Linked DNA regions of Homo sapiens: all the other regions are linked to region 4. Evidence: promoter capture Hi-C in 16 types of primary human blood cells and fetal thymus (Javierre and others, 2016). All regions are on one chromosome and are shown on one strand. Each heading gives the region's core, a stretch centred on a gene start or on the middle of the fragment in contact. The rest is flanking DNA. Distances are from core to core; before and after follow the strand shown. Region 1 overlaps PTPRJ (protein tyrosine phosphatase receptor type J). Region 2 overlaps PTPRJ (protein tyrosine phosphatase receptor type J). Region 3 holds the start of KBTBD4 (kelch repeat and BTB domain containing 4). Region 4 holds the start of NUP160 (nucleoporin 160). Region 5 overlaps PTPRJ (protein tyrosine phosphatase receptor type J).

Region 1 (2,700 bases), core at 68-2,567, 270 kb before region 4:
GATCAAACTAAAATGTGGAGGAAAAGCCCTTTATAAATTCTAAATCTCCATACACATGGAAGAGCAATTTATTTTTTAGAACATTTAGTTACTGAAAGTAAGAACCAGTAAGGGAGACGGAAGGTACCCTTTGTAACTCACCCAAGCCACCTTCTGTGCCCAAGGGGTCTCCCTTTGTCTTATTTGATTGTAGAAGATACGGGTTGATGTTGTATTGAACCCCTGGCTTCAGGCCCGAGATATTGACCTGAAGTCTTGAGTCTTGAGTCAACTCCTCATGGCTTCCAATGCTTTCAAGAAGAACCCGGCAGGAGGCAGTGCCATTGCCATTGCTCCAGGAGAGAGCAGCCTTCCTCACACCCGTGAGGGCAACACGGAGATCAGAAACTGGGATCGGCTCTATTTTAAAAATACAACATGCATTAATGGAACAAGATATATGCAGTCACCTTCATTAAGAATGACTGGGGTTCAGTGCTGGGAGCGGGTTTTAAAAGAAAAAAAGAAAGAATGACTGAGGTCACTGATGTCCCAATGTGACTCACTAAAAATACTTCCTTTCTATCAGAGCCCAATGCATTTCCATCATTTCACAGCAGGGCTGGGGGAGAAAATAATAACACGGAAGAGAAGAAAAAAACCTTAAAACTGAAATTGTTTAGGATCCACACTGTTCTCCAAGATTAACCCCAATAGTGACTGGACACTCTTCTAAACTGTCCCTTTTAAATGGTAGCATTTAATTGTATGTGTTTTAGATATCAGGAACAAAGCCTCAAATAAAGTGACTGTTTACTAATCTAAAGGTCTCAATTCAAGATAATGCAAATAATATCATTTTAAATTACCAAGACATTTCAAGTAAGCAGCACATTCAATATCCCAGCACCAAGGGGATTTTTCAGAAGACGTTCCATCTCCACTATATCCTGGACCTTCCTCCCATCGCGTTATTTGGTTGATGGTGACATAAGTCAAACCACTTCACCCAAAATGACATGCACTCCCCTCACTTTTCCAATAAGAACACGAAGACCCAGAGAGGCAGGGGGGCTTGCTCAAGAACACACACTCCTGGTAGCAGTGGGGACAGGAGAACCCAGGGCTGCAGCTTCATGTACAGAAAAGCACAGGTAGTGCTGCAGATAGAGCAAAACCCCTCCTGAGGGCTGCAGGGGCCTGAAGGTAAAGACATCGGCCTAGATGATTCTAAGGCACCGTCCAGCTCCGAAACGGTAAGATGATTCTTCACAGCACATGTCTCTCATGCAAAGAGTTCTAAATCAGGTCAGTCATGCGTCTTTTTGTTTTATTAAGTAATGCAGAACCAATAAATTCCCAGCTCGGTGACTGTGGATAGCTGTTATGAACATCACTGCACCACAGTGGTCTAGAGTTAGACTCCGGGTTCCAGCCCCACCACTTGATACTCAGTAACTCTGAGACACCGGAAGAAACTTAACTTCTCCACATTACAGTGTCTTCTGCTGCAGCCCCCAGGGTTACTGTGAGGACAAAATAACATTAAGGACAGAGAGGCACATGTGCCGTGCTCAATACGCAGCAGCTGATGGACCTGCTCCCATGCAGCCCTGTGCTCAGGGCTTTAAGCTAGATAAGGACACTCAGCCCCTCTACCGGTGCTTCCTGCACCTCCGCATCCCCTTTCCCACAGCCACCCCCTCGGGGTCACCTTGTCCTCATGACCATTTCCAAGTTCTATGCTCTTTTCTCTCATTCTCTTCTCTTCTGTCATCTCTCTGTGCTCTCCTTTCCCTCTCTTTCACAATGTAACAGAGCAAACCTTTATGGCAGGTTTTCCCCCCTAAAATAGTGCTCTGAGGAGCTCCAGGAGTTTTGTCAGGGTGCCCGTGACTCCCATTTCTTTGGCTCTTTTCTCTCCAGTTTTTTATTTTTACTTTTTGGGCTCCTGGGCAAGGTTTTGTTTAAAGAAATAGTTTCCTGACTTAAAATGTCGGAAGCCACTGGTTTCATATTTGCTGCTCCACGCTGGACCTCGTTCACCTCCAGCCGTGGGCTCCAAGAGCTCAGGCGCCCATGGCCGACTCCAGCCCCTGAGATCACACTCCCCAGCCCCCTAGATCAGAAAACTAACAGAGGACCTCTTTCTTCAATTTTTGGTTCTCCTCACCTTAAAAAAGTTTCTCCACCTGTTTTTTAAAATGTTTGGTTCTTTTCAGCTTAAAAAAAAAGCTAAGTTTGCAGCTATAATAGATGGCTTCGGTATTGACATCTAAGATAAATCAAAATCTAAACTGTCAAATCTGAATTAAAATTTAAATATCATCAAACTCTTATTTCATTTGAAACACACACTCCCCTATAAAATACACCAAACTTTCCTGCCCAACAGAAACTCCTGGGAATATAAACACAGCATCAATTTCCTGGGAGCTTAAAAGGCTGGTAATTACCATGAAGACACGCGTTTTTAAGGAAGTCTCTACTCCTGAGTCTTAACAGAAAGGTAGGTGTTAACCAACAATAACAAAAGATTTTAAAAACCAAACAGAAGTAGTTAGAACTTCCCAAAACACATAGGGCCTTAATACTGAATGATGTGGCCACCAGAAATCCCAGGCTTGAAACAACATAGCACCTTTTCTCCTCTTCTAGTTTATGAAAACCATTCTCTTTCCAACAGGCAACTTGAACGGACAAGGCCCTAGAATACACCAT
Region 2 (2,700 bases), core at 65-2,564, 260 kb before region 4:
CAGCTATGACATCAGTGGTCCACTCTGAACACTAGATTCTTCCCACTCAAAAACTAAGGCCGGGAGCAGTGGCTCACACTTGTAATCCCAGCACTTTGTGAGGCCAAGGCAGGTGGATCACCTGAGGTCAGGAGTTCCAGACCAGCCTGGCCAACATGGTGAAACCCCAACTCTACTAAAAATACAAAAATTAGCCAGGTGTGGTTGCATGCACCTGTAATCCCAGCACTCTGGGAGGCTGAGGCAGGAGAATTGCTTGAACTGGGGAGACGGAGGTTGCAGTGAGCTGAGATCGCGCCACTGCACTCCAGCCTGGGCAACAGAGTGAGACTCTGTCTTAAAAAAAAAAAAAAAAAAAAAAAGAAAGAAAGAAAGAAAAGAAAAGAAGAAAAAAAAGAAACTAAGTCATAAGGATCTTACCAGCTGCATTTACACCTAAAACTTCTAAAATTTTCCCCAACTCCTCTACATGAAAATCCTACATGTACATACACATCAAAACAGACCCCCTACGTATTCTCCTCTTCCCCTCTCTCTGACATGACTGTGTCATTAAACCTGTCTCCCAGTCTGCAAACCAGAATAACTTCTGGTTCTTCCCTCTGCTTCACTCTTTGTGGGTCACATAAAGATGTTTCCTTGCCCAGCACACCTTGACTTCCCCGCTTCTGTACTGTGCATATTGTAAACCAAGTCTTCATAACCTCCAGCCCTAAATCACAGAAACAGCCTCATCCTAGGGCTGAGAAACACTCAGGCCATTTCCATTTTCATTTCTTGAAGCTCCAGGTGCACACATGTACACACAAAATTAGGAAGTACCAGAACAGGGTTGTATCTACGGCCGTGTATTTTTGGTTTTGCTTCTGTTAGAGCAACGCCCTGACTCGACCTATAACCCCTCATTTGGAATATAAGAGGACTTAAACGGGAGCCTTTTGTGAACACCAGTGGTGACAGCCAGGCCCTACTCCTTCATCCATATACCTGGTTGCCTCTCCCTTCAATCCACAGTAAAAAAATAAATAGAACTGCGAATTTTTCTTTCTGAAACATGCGGTATTAGCCAATATCCTAGCTGGAGCAGATGACACACTCAATGAGGGTGAGTGAGGAGAGTTTTAAAGAGTCTGTTTTCAAGGGTGAGGGTGGGGTTAAGGAAAACCAGTAAGGGATGGGCAAGAATCCTGGGGTAGCAGCAGCGAGGAAGGGCAAGGAGAGAGGCCAAGGCTACCTCCCCTCATCTCCAGCTAGGGTCTCTCGCCAGACTGGCCCACTGGAAGCTGGAGACCAAGGGCACCCACTGGTGTAGAACATAAAGGTCAGCCTCCTCCTAGTGGGCACAGCAGGGTAGAGACAGGCGGGCAGAGTCTCAGGAGCACACAGAGATCTGCGGCACAGAGCTCCCAACACATCACCACTGAAAGCCCGTCAGCCTGACAGGTGTGGACTAGGGTGGTTAAAAGGTTAGTTCAACTTCCACTGTCACTCATGAGCTCTGGCACTTGAGGGTCTCGTGGAGCCATTGTTTTCATCAGTTGTAAAATGACGCAGGGGCATTTGCAATACAGACCCCATATCTGAGTTGTCCTGAGACTCGAACAACACAAGGTTCCTTAATTCCCAGCCTAACAGCCTTCTTCTTGCCTCACTGAACCTCCAAAGCCACCACCCTTCAATTCACTTGGTGACTTCCTGTGACTGCTCCAGCCCCTAGGAGCTCTCCAGGCTCTGAGACCCTCTCCGTCCATGCTGTTGTCCATGCTGCTAATTGTGGCCCTGCAGGGCCCCAGGCCCCAGGTTAGGTGCCAAAGATGCAGAGGGTGCTTAAGGTGGTCCTGACTCCCCAAGAGCTCACAGGCAAGAAAAGCAGTGAAAGATCTGGGTGCGCCAGGACCTGGTGAGCTTGGGGGATGGGGAGGGAGGGGCTTGAGGGATGGGGAGGGAGAGGCTTGGGGGTGCTTCAGGGTAATATGCAGGGGTAGAATGGGAGAAAACAACATAGTGACCCTGTGTGAGAATCTAATGCTGTTCCATTCTACTTATTATAATATTAACTAAACCCTTTGCTACCGTCCAGTCGCAAGTCAGATGTTGTATTTATCATCTCATTCAAGCCTTACAATAATCCCAGCAGGGAGGAACTGTGTTTATCCCCATTTTCCAGATGTAGACACCGAGCCTTGGAAAAGTTAAGGTCCTGACCGAGCATCTTACAGCCCCAGGTCAAGATTCAGCCCAAGGTCAATCGGACCCTGAAGTCCTTGAACTTAACCACCCCCAGGGAGCACTAAGCTGGTTCAACCCTGGGCAGGTCTCAACTGAGACCATGAAACCCAAAGGCAGTTCCAGGGCTGCAGGTCACAAACCCCTGCCTGTCCTGGGCCTTGGGAACAGCCCCCATCAACCCATTTGAATTGACTAAATTAAGGCAGCTTGTACAAGTTTCTCAAAAGGAGCAGTGTTTGGGGATAAATTCACAGGGCAGCTTGGATTTCAGCAAGTGACAAAGCTCTCCAGGTTTTCTGTTATCCACGTTGGGCTTTTAAGGATGGGTAATAAGTGACTGAATAGCACAATGGGTAACAATAGACTCTTTATCCTTCTAAAGCCAAGCCCACACACCATATGACAATAGTTATTTTTACCCACTGACGTAATTAACCAAAATGTGAACCGCTTCAAGCAATGTTTAAAATC
Region 3 (2,700 bases), core at 201-2,700, 270 kb after region 4:
TGAAGCACCTTGAGAAAGGTGCATGTGAAAGGTTTCCCTTCTAGGGAATACAGTGATGAAAACTTGGGGAAAGTGCCACCTTAACTACACGGTCCTCAGAAAGACTCTTACTATAGCAGCTGGGGTGTTCACCTCTTCTCAAAATTACTCCACAGTTCTTCCCTCACATTGCCTGCATTTCTGCTAAAGCAGTAGTCTCAGTTCTCCTGTCAGACTAAGAGCTGTTTGAGGATGGGAACTGAACTTTTGCCTCTCTGTAGCTCCTTAGCACGCAAGTTTATACCAGGTTCTCAAGCTAAGAACTTCAGGGCTTGAAGATCCCTCACAGACTCTCTCTCTCCTTAAAAGTGTGTGTGTGTGTGTGTGTCAATGAGAAAACTGAGGCCCAGGTGTGTGTGTGTGTGTGTGTGTGTGTGTGTGTGTGTGTGTGTGTGTCAATGAGAAAACCCAGGAAAGGAGAAATGCCAGGTCTCCTAACTCCCAGTCCGTGTATCTTGACTGTAACATAATATGTACATACTCATTCATGCAACCCTAAACCACTGAGCAATCACACATCACAAGCTACAGAATAATGGTTAGGTGTTTCTGCCTCTGGCAGCAGGCAGGCCTACTTTGTCATTCACTAGGTCTTTGACCCTGGGCAGTTTAATTCTTTGGACTGTTTCCTGATCTATAGTAAGAAGAGTAAGATGCTATCTACCCCATAAGGCTGTTGTGAGGACGAAATAAGATCATTCACTAAAACGCTTAGCGAGGTTCCAGGCACACATTAAGCACTCAATTAACGCTAGGTACTATTATTACAGGGCTCTGAGGCCTAAAGGTTATATTGCTTGCTTTCAAAGAGCTGACAGTTTAATCAGACAAAAAGGGGATGATTGAAATGGACAAGGAACAATCAGGGCCATAACAGGCCTAAGGGCACAGGGAGGGCTCGATTCTGCATGCAGGGTGAAGACCACTGCAAGTCAGATCTCCAAGATTTGCCAGGAGGACGTAGGGAAGGGCATCCTAGGGCAAGGACAGGCATCTAAGGGGCCCCGCCGATAGTTCAGAGAAGAGCGCTGCCCGCACATACTCACGGCGCGTGTCGGCCCCGGCGCTCTCCCGCCTCACCGGCAGCAACAGAACGGAGGGTCGCCCAGTCCCTGCACAGGGAGATAAAAGGCACAGACGCGCGGGATGAGCCCTGAGGAGCTCTCTGCACTGGGCACGCCGCTGCGCCTGACCCCGGTCTCAGCTGGCTGCCCGTGCTCACCCCTGGTCAGCGCCGAGGCCCCCAAGATCCCGCGCCACCACAGCCTGGCTACCGCCGCCGCCGCCATGTTACTCAGATGCAGACTAGGCAGCGGACGGAAAGACAGCAGGACACGGAGCCCCAAGGGCACGGACCGGAAACGGAAGTGTGCAGCAGATCTTCTTCCGGGCGGACGTGGAGCCGGAAGCGGAGGTTCCGGGCTCCGGGATGAAAGGAGGGAACGCAGGTGAGAAAGCGAGACAGGCAGGTAGGGAAATCGTGAGGTGAGCGTGGTCCTAGCTCCTTGTGGCAGAGCCTAGAGAGAAGGCGAGGACGCTGAAGAACCAGGCGGGTGAGAGGAGGGGAGGGGGCGGGCGTTTTGGGTTCTACGCTACACACCCCTCCCCCGCTCTCTGAGCCAAGCTTTTGACGAGGGCGGGCGGGCCTGAGCGGGAAGAACGGTTTCCCTGGCGACCGTTTCCAAGACGACTCAAGGTGGAGCGGGGACATTGCACAGGGTGATGGGCCTCCCAGTGCCCCGGCCTGGGGGCGGATGGACTCAAGTTCTGGGACGCAGCCATAGGGAGTCTTTCGAGCGAGCGGGGAAGTGTGGGGGAAGCAGCTCAGAAGAGAGCAAATGTAAGACCCACGGATATCCCAGGCTAGGCTTCATATGGAGCGTCTTAACTCCATGCGCTGGGAAGGAGAGGACCTGGCCACTAGGCCGGGGCCAGGGGTCCTTTTTGTCTGATTCTACTGCCCCTGAGCTTCACTAGTTTTATGCCCCAGTTATTTGGTTAGTAAGGCTTTTACGATCACAGGCCTCTCCCAGCCCTTTGCTTTCATATATTGACCTAAATCCCAAGTCTTTTGTTAACATTATGGAAAGGAATTATTCCGTGTTTTCTCAGGAAAACACCCAGAGTTGGAACTTTTATTTATATCATTAGCGGAGGGGCGCCACTGGGGATAACGAACCCAGATTTGGTTAAAGGATAGCGTCAGGGACATCATGGACAGGGCCAGGACTAAGGCCAATCTGGACCCACTTTGCTCTCACTTCTTCCTTTTCCCTCCCTGAGTTGGACAGTTGGATTCACAGACTATGGCTGTGAATTCCTCAGGTTACTCAAGATGGTGTTGCTTTGCAGACAGCTGGCAGAGAGAGAAGTTGGCTAGCATGGAATCACCAGAGGAGCCTGGAGCATCCATGGATGAGAACTACTTTGTGAACTACACTTTCAAAGATCGGTCACATTCAGGCCGTGTGGCTCAAGGCATCATGAAACTGTGTCTAGAGGAGGAGCTCTTTGCTGATGTCACCATTTCGGTGGAAGGCCGGGAGTTTCAGCTCCATCGGCTGGTCCTCTCAGCTCAGAGCTGCTTCTTCCGATCCATGTTCACTTCCAACCTGAAGGAGGCCCACAACCGGGTGATTGTGCTGCAGGATGTCAGCGAGT
Region 4 (2,700 bases), core at 179-2,678:
CACCTCCCAGGTTCAAGCGATTCTCCTGCCTCAGCCTCCCGAGTAGCTGGGATTACAGGCGTGCACCACCATGCCCGGCTAATTTTTTGTATCTTTAATAGAGACAGGGTTTCACCATGTTGGCCAGGTTGGTCTGAAACTCCTTACCTCGTGATCCACCCACCTCTGCCTCCCAGAGCGCTGGGATTACAGGCGTGAGCCACCGCGCCCGGCTAATTTTTCTATTTTTGGTAGAGACCGGGTTTCACCATGTTGGCCAGGCTGGTCTCGGACTCCTGACCTCAAGTGATCCTCACGCCTTGGCCTCCCAAAATGCTGGGAGCCACGCCCGACCCGGGTGTATAGTTTTCTCCAGTCATGTTCAGCTACAGATTTGAATGTAGTCGAAGTTGTAGTTTTTACCGATGAAGAGTTAGGCAATGAAGTAATTTAATGGTATTCAGGATAAGAAAGAAACACCAAAGAAGTGTGGGACAGTGAAGATTTTGTAGAACAATGGATTCCAGGTAGAATGAGGGGACTGCACTGCCAAAGTTGGTGTCCCAGAGGGAGTGAAGTGGAAAGATAGAAAATGATGGTCGGAACCAGATAAATGAAACGGAGAATGACAGGGAATGGTTGTGGTCACTGGTAATAGAAGTGCTTTAACTTCTATTGGCTATCACTAAGGAACAAAACCTTCCCCGCTGGAGATTAGCATTTTCCTCGATTTTGAACATCTACTCCCACAATATCTTCTAAACACCCACTATGGGCCCTTACTGCATTGACAGCCAAGTGCAAGATCACGGGTGGAAGGAATGGCAAATTCCTTTCACGTATCCAAGTGAGTAGCACTCAGGTAACCTCAGCAAGTGGCAGCACCAAGGTTTACCACATTACGTTTCATTATACAGGAATACACGAATACAGTCTCTTGGGGAGGGGAAAGACCAAAACCAAAGGCCTTTCCCTCACTACCCCTTCCTCACCCCGCCATCCCAAGTGTCGCCACTGAAGAGCGAAGGGAGGATCGCCAAAGATTTACAGACGGACACCCTAACCGAGGGAGAGGTGACCATAAACCCGGGATCCGGCAGAGGACGCCGAAAGGCCGGGACTCCCCGGACCTCGCCCCTCCTGGTCGACTGAGCCCCGCGTTTTAGAAACAGAAACAAACCCGGCCCCGCCCCCTGCCCTGCGGCCGCTGAGAAAAGAGCACCGCCCTCCGGAGGCGTTCCAGCCGGCCACTGGAAGGTTCCCGCAGATAGAGTCTGCCTCCCCTGCCCCCTTCTCTTCTGGATTCCTCGCTGCCCACCCTCATTCTCCCGGTGGAAGCCTCGCAACGAAGGGCCGGAGCCGCCTTTCTGCTCCCGGAATGCTTCACCTGTCCGCAGCTCCGCCCGCCCCACCCCCGGAAGTGACGGCGACCGCGCGGCCCTGCCTTTGTTCCGTTGGGCGTCGCGGCGACGGCGGGAAGATGGCGGCGGCGGGAGCCCTGGAACGGAGCTTCGTGGAGCTAAGCGGAGCTGAGCGCGAAAGGCCGAGGCACTTTCGGGAATTCACAGTCTGCAGCATTGGTACGGAAATGGCCAGGGAGGGTGCGATCCCATCTGTCCCCTCGGGCTCCTCTCATGGGTCCCAGGGTCCCTGACGCCCTGTTTCATCCTCCTGAGTCCACATGCCTCTAGCCCCGGGATCAGAGATTCCTTGATGTCCGACGTTTTCCTCTTTTCTTTGTATGGGTTGTCAGTCTGTCACTCTCTGCTTTGTCAGCTCCCTTAGTCCCTGTCATTTCTCAGAAGACGCGTGTGCAGGCTGACCACGTTCATTTTGCAGGGACTGCAAATGCCGTGGCTGGCGCCGTAAAATACAGTGAAAGCGCGGGAGGCTTTTACTACGTGGAGAGTGGCAAGTTGTTCTCCGTAACCAGAAACAGGTTCATTCATTGGTAAGTGTTGTGGTTCGCCAAACTCCCCTGGAAGGTAGGGTTTGGTGTATAAATTTTCGTCGCTGTACCCAAAGTGCTATTCTAGAAGCGGTAATTGACACTTAGGGAAAGAGAAAGATTGTTTTTTCAGTTCGTATCAGAATCGGGAAAACTGAGACACAGAGTTCTAGAAGAGATACCTCTCCCCCTCCCCCCCCCCACCCCCACACACACATACACCAAGCAACACCAGAAGCAGAGGAAATGTAGCTTAGGGGAATAAAGCCCATAAGACCAATTTTAAACATGAACCCGTTATGTTTTTATAGTGCTTTACAGCTTCCTTCATTGTACAAATACGTTCGAGCTTCAATATGTCAGGCATTGTGCTAGGTACCAGGACGAAATGAACAAAACTGCAATTTTCATCATGCAAGACGTTGTAGCAATGTCAGAATAGATGTAGACCCACTTTTCATGGGGAAATTTTTTGGAGGAAAACTTGCCCTAGAGGAAAAATATACGGGTTATGAGAGGCTAATAAGAGGACCAAATATAATTAGTGGGGCAGGGAAAGGCTTTAAGGAATTCACAGTTACCCTGAGATCTAAAGGACACGAGGTTAGCCAGGCATGGGGAGTGGACAGAGAGGAGTCCAGCAAGTAGGATCACCATATGCAAAGGTCATGAAGTGGAAAGAATGTGGCGGGTTTGGAACTGACCAAAGATCTGTGTGGCTTAAGTGCAGTGGGTAAAACAGAAAGTGATGTGAGATACTGAGGCTGGAGAGG
Region 5 (2,700 bases), core at 49-2,548, 300 kb before region 4:
ACTGAACCAGTGCCAGGACTGTTGTCTTCTCCCTACCTGGATCCTGGGGCAAGGAAACAGCATCTGAGTAGCGACTGAAGGACACATAGCTCTCAGCCCCATCAATGAGCCCCTTGTTTTGAGGGTGGAAGGTAATGTTGGTGAAGCCAGCCACACAAGCCCTGTGGGATAACAAAGAGCAAAAAGAGGTCCCTGAGACGTGTCTGACCGCAGGCATGTAGAGCTTTATGCTCATGAGGCTCAGCCCCCAAAGAGTAAGAACCAGAAGACATTACCGGTAGGAGCCCAGAGGTTCCAGCTTCCCATTGTAATAACCAAGTGTGGTTGACTCATTCCCAACGTCAATTTCATATTTCAAAACTTCAGACAAGCTCTGAGAACGTCCCTTTTCTTCTGTTCTTATGAGGTATGTCACATAAGTATCTGAGGCTCCCTTTTTGAAATCCTCATACGTGTATTTCAGGACATCTGCAGAAGGGTGACCAGCTAAGAAAGGTACACAGAAGGAGAATCATAAGAAAGTGATGGCAGAGAGATTTCTTCTCCTGCATATCTACATGGTGGTGATGTTGGGTGATAGTGATCAGCAACCATCTCTCAAGTATCTCTCTGTGCCAGGTTTGACTTACATTGAATTCTAAGGGTTTCACCTACAGTAACTCACTTCATCCCCATGAATCCCATCACATAAGCTTATTGTCTCCATTTTACAGACAAGAAAACGAAGGTACAAAAGGCTAACAGGACCAGGCACAAGGTCACACTGCCTATGAGGTAGAGTTGGGTTCCCAATCCAGGGCATCGGGCTCAGAGCCCAAGGTTTCATCTAATCACAGGCCAGCACTGGTCAGTCTGGCTGCTATGCAACATGGCCTTCCTCAATGGGACTTGCTGACAAGCATCACAGCAAAATGACTAAGAGCTGGAAACAGACCCAAAATTAAAAGATAGAGATTTCAACCTCACTTTTTGAAATTTTGCCACAGGTTATGGCACCAGCAAATTTCTATCCTCCCAGATCCCTAACCCCGACAGTGTGTTTGGTCTCTATCCTCCTCAAGGACATGAGGACAGCACCACAGTAGGAGAGAGTGGGCAGAGGAAACACTGCATTATTCATGCATAAAGAATCTCCCAGACCAGGCACAGAGGCTCATGCCTGTAGTCTAGTCCCAGCACTTTGGAAGGCCAAGGTGGGAGGATTACTTGAGTCCAGGAGTTCAAGACCAGCCTGGGCAACATGGTGAGATCTTGTCTCTAAAAGAAAGAAAGAGGGAAGGGGAAGGGAAGGAGAAGGGGAGAAGGGGAGAAGGGGAGGAGGAGGAGAGGGGAGGGGGAGGAGAAGGGGAGGAGGAGGAGAGGGGAGGGGGAGGAGGGGAGGGGGAGGAGGGAACCCCCACAACAAAACTTGGGCTTTTAAATCTAGGCCTTATGCAAGCACTCAAACACAGCTACCGAAGAGACTCTCGAATGATTCCTTTCCTACCACAAAAGAATGTAACAGAGCCCTTTAAGGAAAAGCAGCTTTTAATCCACCTCTTCTCTCAGCTAAGGAGATACTCTGCAAATTCCCACTAGCAAATGCAAATCTTTTTCTATTTTCTTTCAAAGGAAAGTCATCCTCTGAGGATGGCATGTGTGTACGTGTGTAGAGTGAGAGAGAGAGACAGAGTTGGTTAAAACTAATATTCTACCACCTAAAAGGCCCAGTGAGGTAAAAGAGAAGAAAAACCTAGATCACAGATCAGCAAGTTATGGGCCACAAACCAAATCCACCTGCCATGGTAAATAACATCTAGTGGGAATGGTCCCACTCATTCCTTCTGTATCTTCTGTGACTGCTTGCACACTACAATGGCAGAGTCGAATGCTTGCAACAGACTCTATACCACCTGCAAAGCTTAAAATATTGGCAATCTGGCCCTTTCCAGAAAGTTTGTCAACCATCAGGCAAATACCTCACCCTCCTTCTCTGTCTGAGTACACAGCATAGGCTGCAGTGAGAAGACAGGCGTGTGTCTGCATTACTCACATGCCTCAGTGGGCACAGAGAAAGCTCTGGTCACTGCATCACTCATGGGCTGTTTAACCCACGGAGGCCTCTCCTTACCTTCCCCGGTGGTGAGAATGACAGCATAGGCTTTGATGGGTCCGTGGCTGGCTTCAAATCCACTGAACTTGACCTTTACTGAATTGTGACTGACAGATGTAATATTAGGGGATCCATCTGGAGGAGGGGGATCTAAAACAAAACAAAACAAAACATGATCACCCAATATTGAAAACCAAAGCAACACATTAGGTAGAGAACATGCTTCAGCAACCTCCTCAAGATCTTACTCTGGAAGCTACATGCTGGGCTCGTGCAAAACAGCAAATCCAGAAGCAAAAGGCAGGGAAGGAAACTGGTGAGGAGCAGAGACAGCAGATCCTGGGAAACCCACCTAGCTCACAATGACCCCTTCAGGGCATCCAGCCAAATCCCCAGGGCAGGCACCCAGCAGCCTTGTTTGGTTTTGCTATTGTTGTTTTGAACAGTACATGCTTTTATTTTATTTTTTAACAGATTGATTGAAATATAATTAGAATACAATCAAGGAGATGAAAGACTTGTAGAGTGAAAACCACAAAACATCGATAAAATAAAGAAGATACAAATACACAAATACATGCAAAGACATCCCATGCTCATGGATTGGA

Evidence for each region. Contacts are between HindIII fragments. The CHiCAGO score rates a contact against its expected background, and 5 or more counts as called.
Region 1: a fragment that was not itself captured here is called in contact with the fragment with the promoter of NUP160 in region 4 in 3 of 17 cell types (naive B cells, total B cells and activated CD4 T cells); the score reaches 10.2 in naive B cells.
Region 2: a contact is called between a fragment that was not itself captured here and the fragment with the promoter of NUP160 in region 4, in 14 of 17 cell types (total B cells, naive B cells, neutrophils and 11 more). The highest score is 24.9, in total B cells.
Region 3: a contact is called between the fragment with the promoter of KBTBD4 here and the fragment with the promoter of NUP160 in region 4, in 2 of 17 cell types (M1 macrophages and M2 macrophages). The highest score is 6.6, in M1 macrophages.
Region 5: a contact is called between a fragment that was not itself captured here and the fragment with the promoter of NUP160 in region 4, in 3 of 17 cell types (naive B cells, total B cells and neutrophils). The highest score is 7.5, in naive B cells.

The regions. Positions count from the first base shown.
Region 1 is chr11:48,121,312-48,124,011 of GRCh38, reverse strand. PTPRJ (protein tyrosine phosphatase receptor type J) reads right to left here. Exons shown (of 25, transcript NM_002843.4): 5 at 142-399. Among named protein-coding and RNA genes, the nearest start is that of MIR3161, 26 kb to the right of the region's middle. The HindIII fragment of the contact is 6,799 bases long and covers 1-2,700 here.
Region 2 is chr11:48,104,426-48,107,125 of GRCh38, reverse strand. The region is part of intron 1 of PTPRJ (protein tyrosine phosphatase receptor type J); the gene reads right to left. Among named protein-coding and RNA genes, the nearest start is that of MIR3161, 9.0 kb to the right of the region's middle. The HindIII fragment of the contact is 3,181 bases long and covers 1-2,700 here.
Region 3 is chr11:47,577,720-47,580,419 of GRCh38, reverse strand. KBTBD4 (kelch repeat and BTB domain containing 4) reads left to right here and starts at 1,450. Exons shown (of 4, transcript NM_018095.6): 1 at 1,450-1,487; 2 at 2,392-2,700. The coding sequence starts at 1,469. It overlaps NDUFS3 (NADH:ubiquinone oxidoreductase core subunit S3), which reads right to left and starts at 1,346. Exons shown (of 7, transcript NM_004551.3): 1 at 1,262-1,346; 2 at 1,086-1,151. The coding sequence starts at 1,328. RefSeq lists enhancers at 573-1,231, 1,300-1,539, 1,232-1,891. The HindIII fragment of the contact is 1,977 bases long and covers 1-1,665 here.
Region 4 is chr11:47,847,078-47,849,777 of GRCh38, reverse strand. NUP160 (nucleoporin 160) reads left to right here and starts at 1,428. Exons shown (of 36, transcript NM_015231.3): 1 at 1,428-1,559; 2 at 1,819-1,930. The coding sequence starts at 1,460. RefSeq lists an enhancer at 931-1,490. The HindIII fragment of the contact is 7,211 bases long and covers 1-2,700 here.
Region 5 is chr11:48,142,461-48,145,160 of GRCh38, reverse strand. PTPRJ (protein tyrosine phosphatase receptor type J) reads right to left here. Exons shown (of 25, transcript NM_002843.4): 12 at 2,111-2,242; 13 at 276-486; 14 at 37-161. Among named protein-coding and RNA genes, the nearest start is that of MIR3161, 47 kb to the right of the region's middle. The HindIII fragment of the contact is 1,208 bases long and covers 695-1,902 here.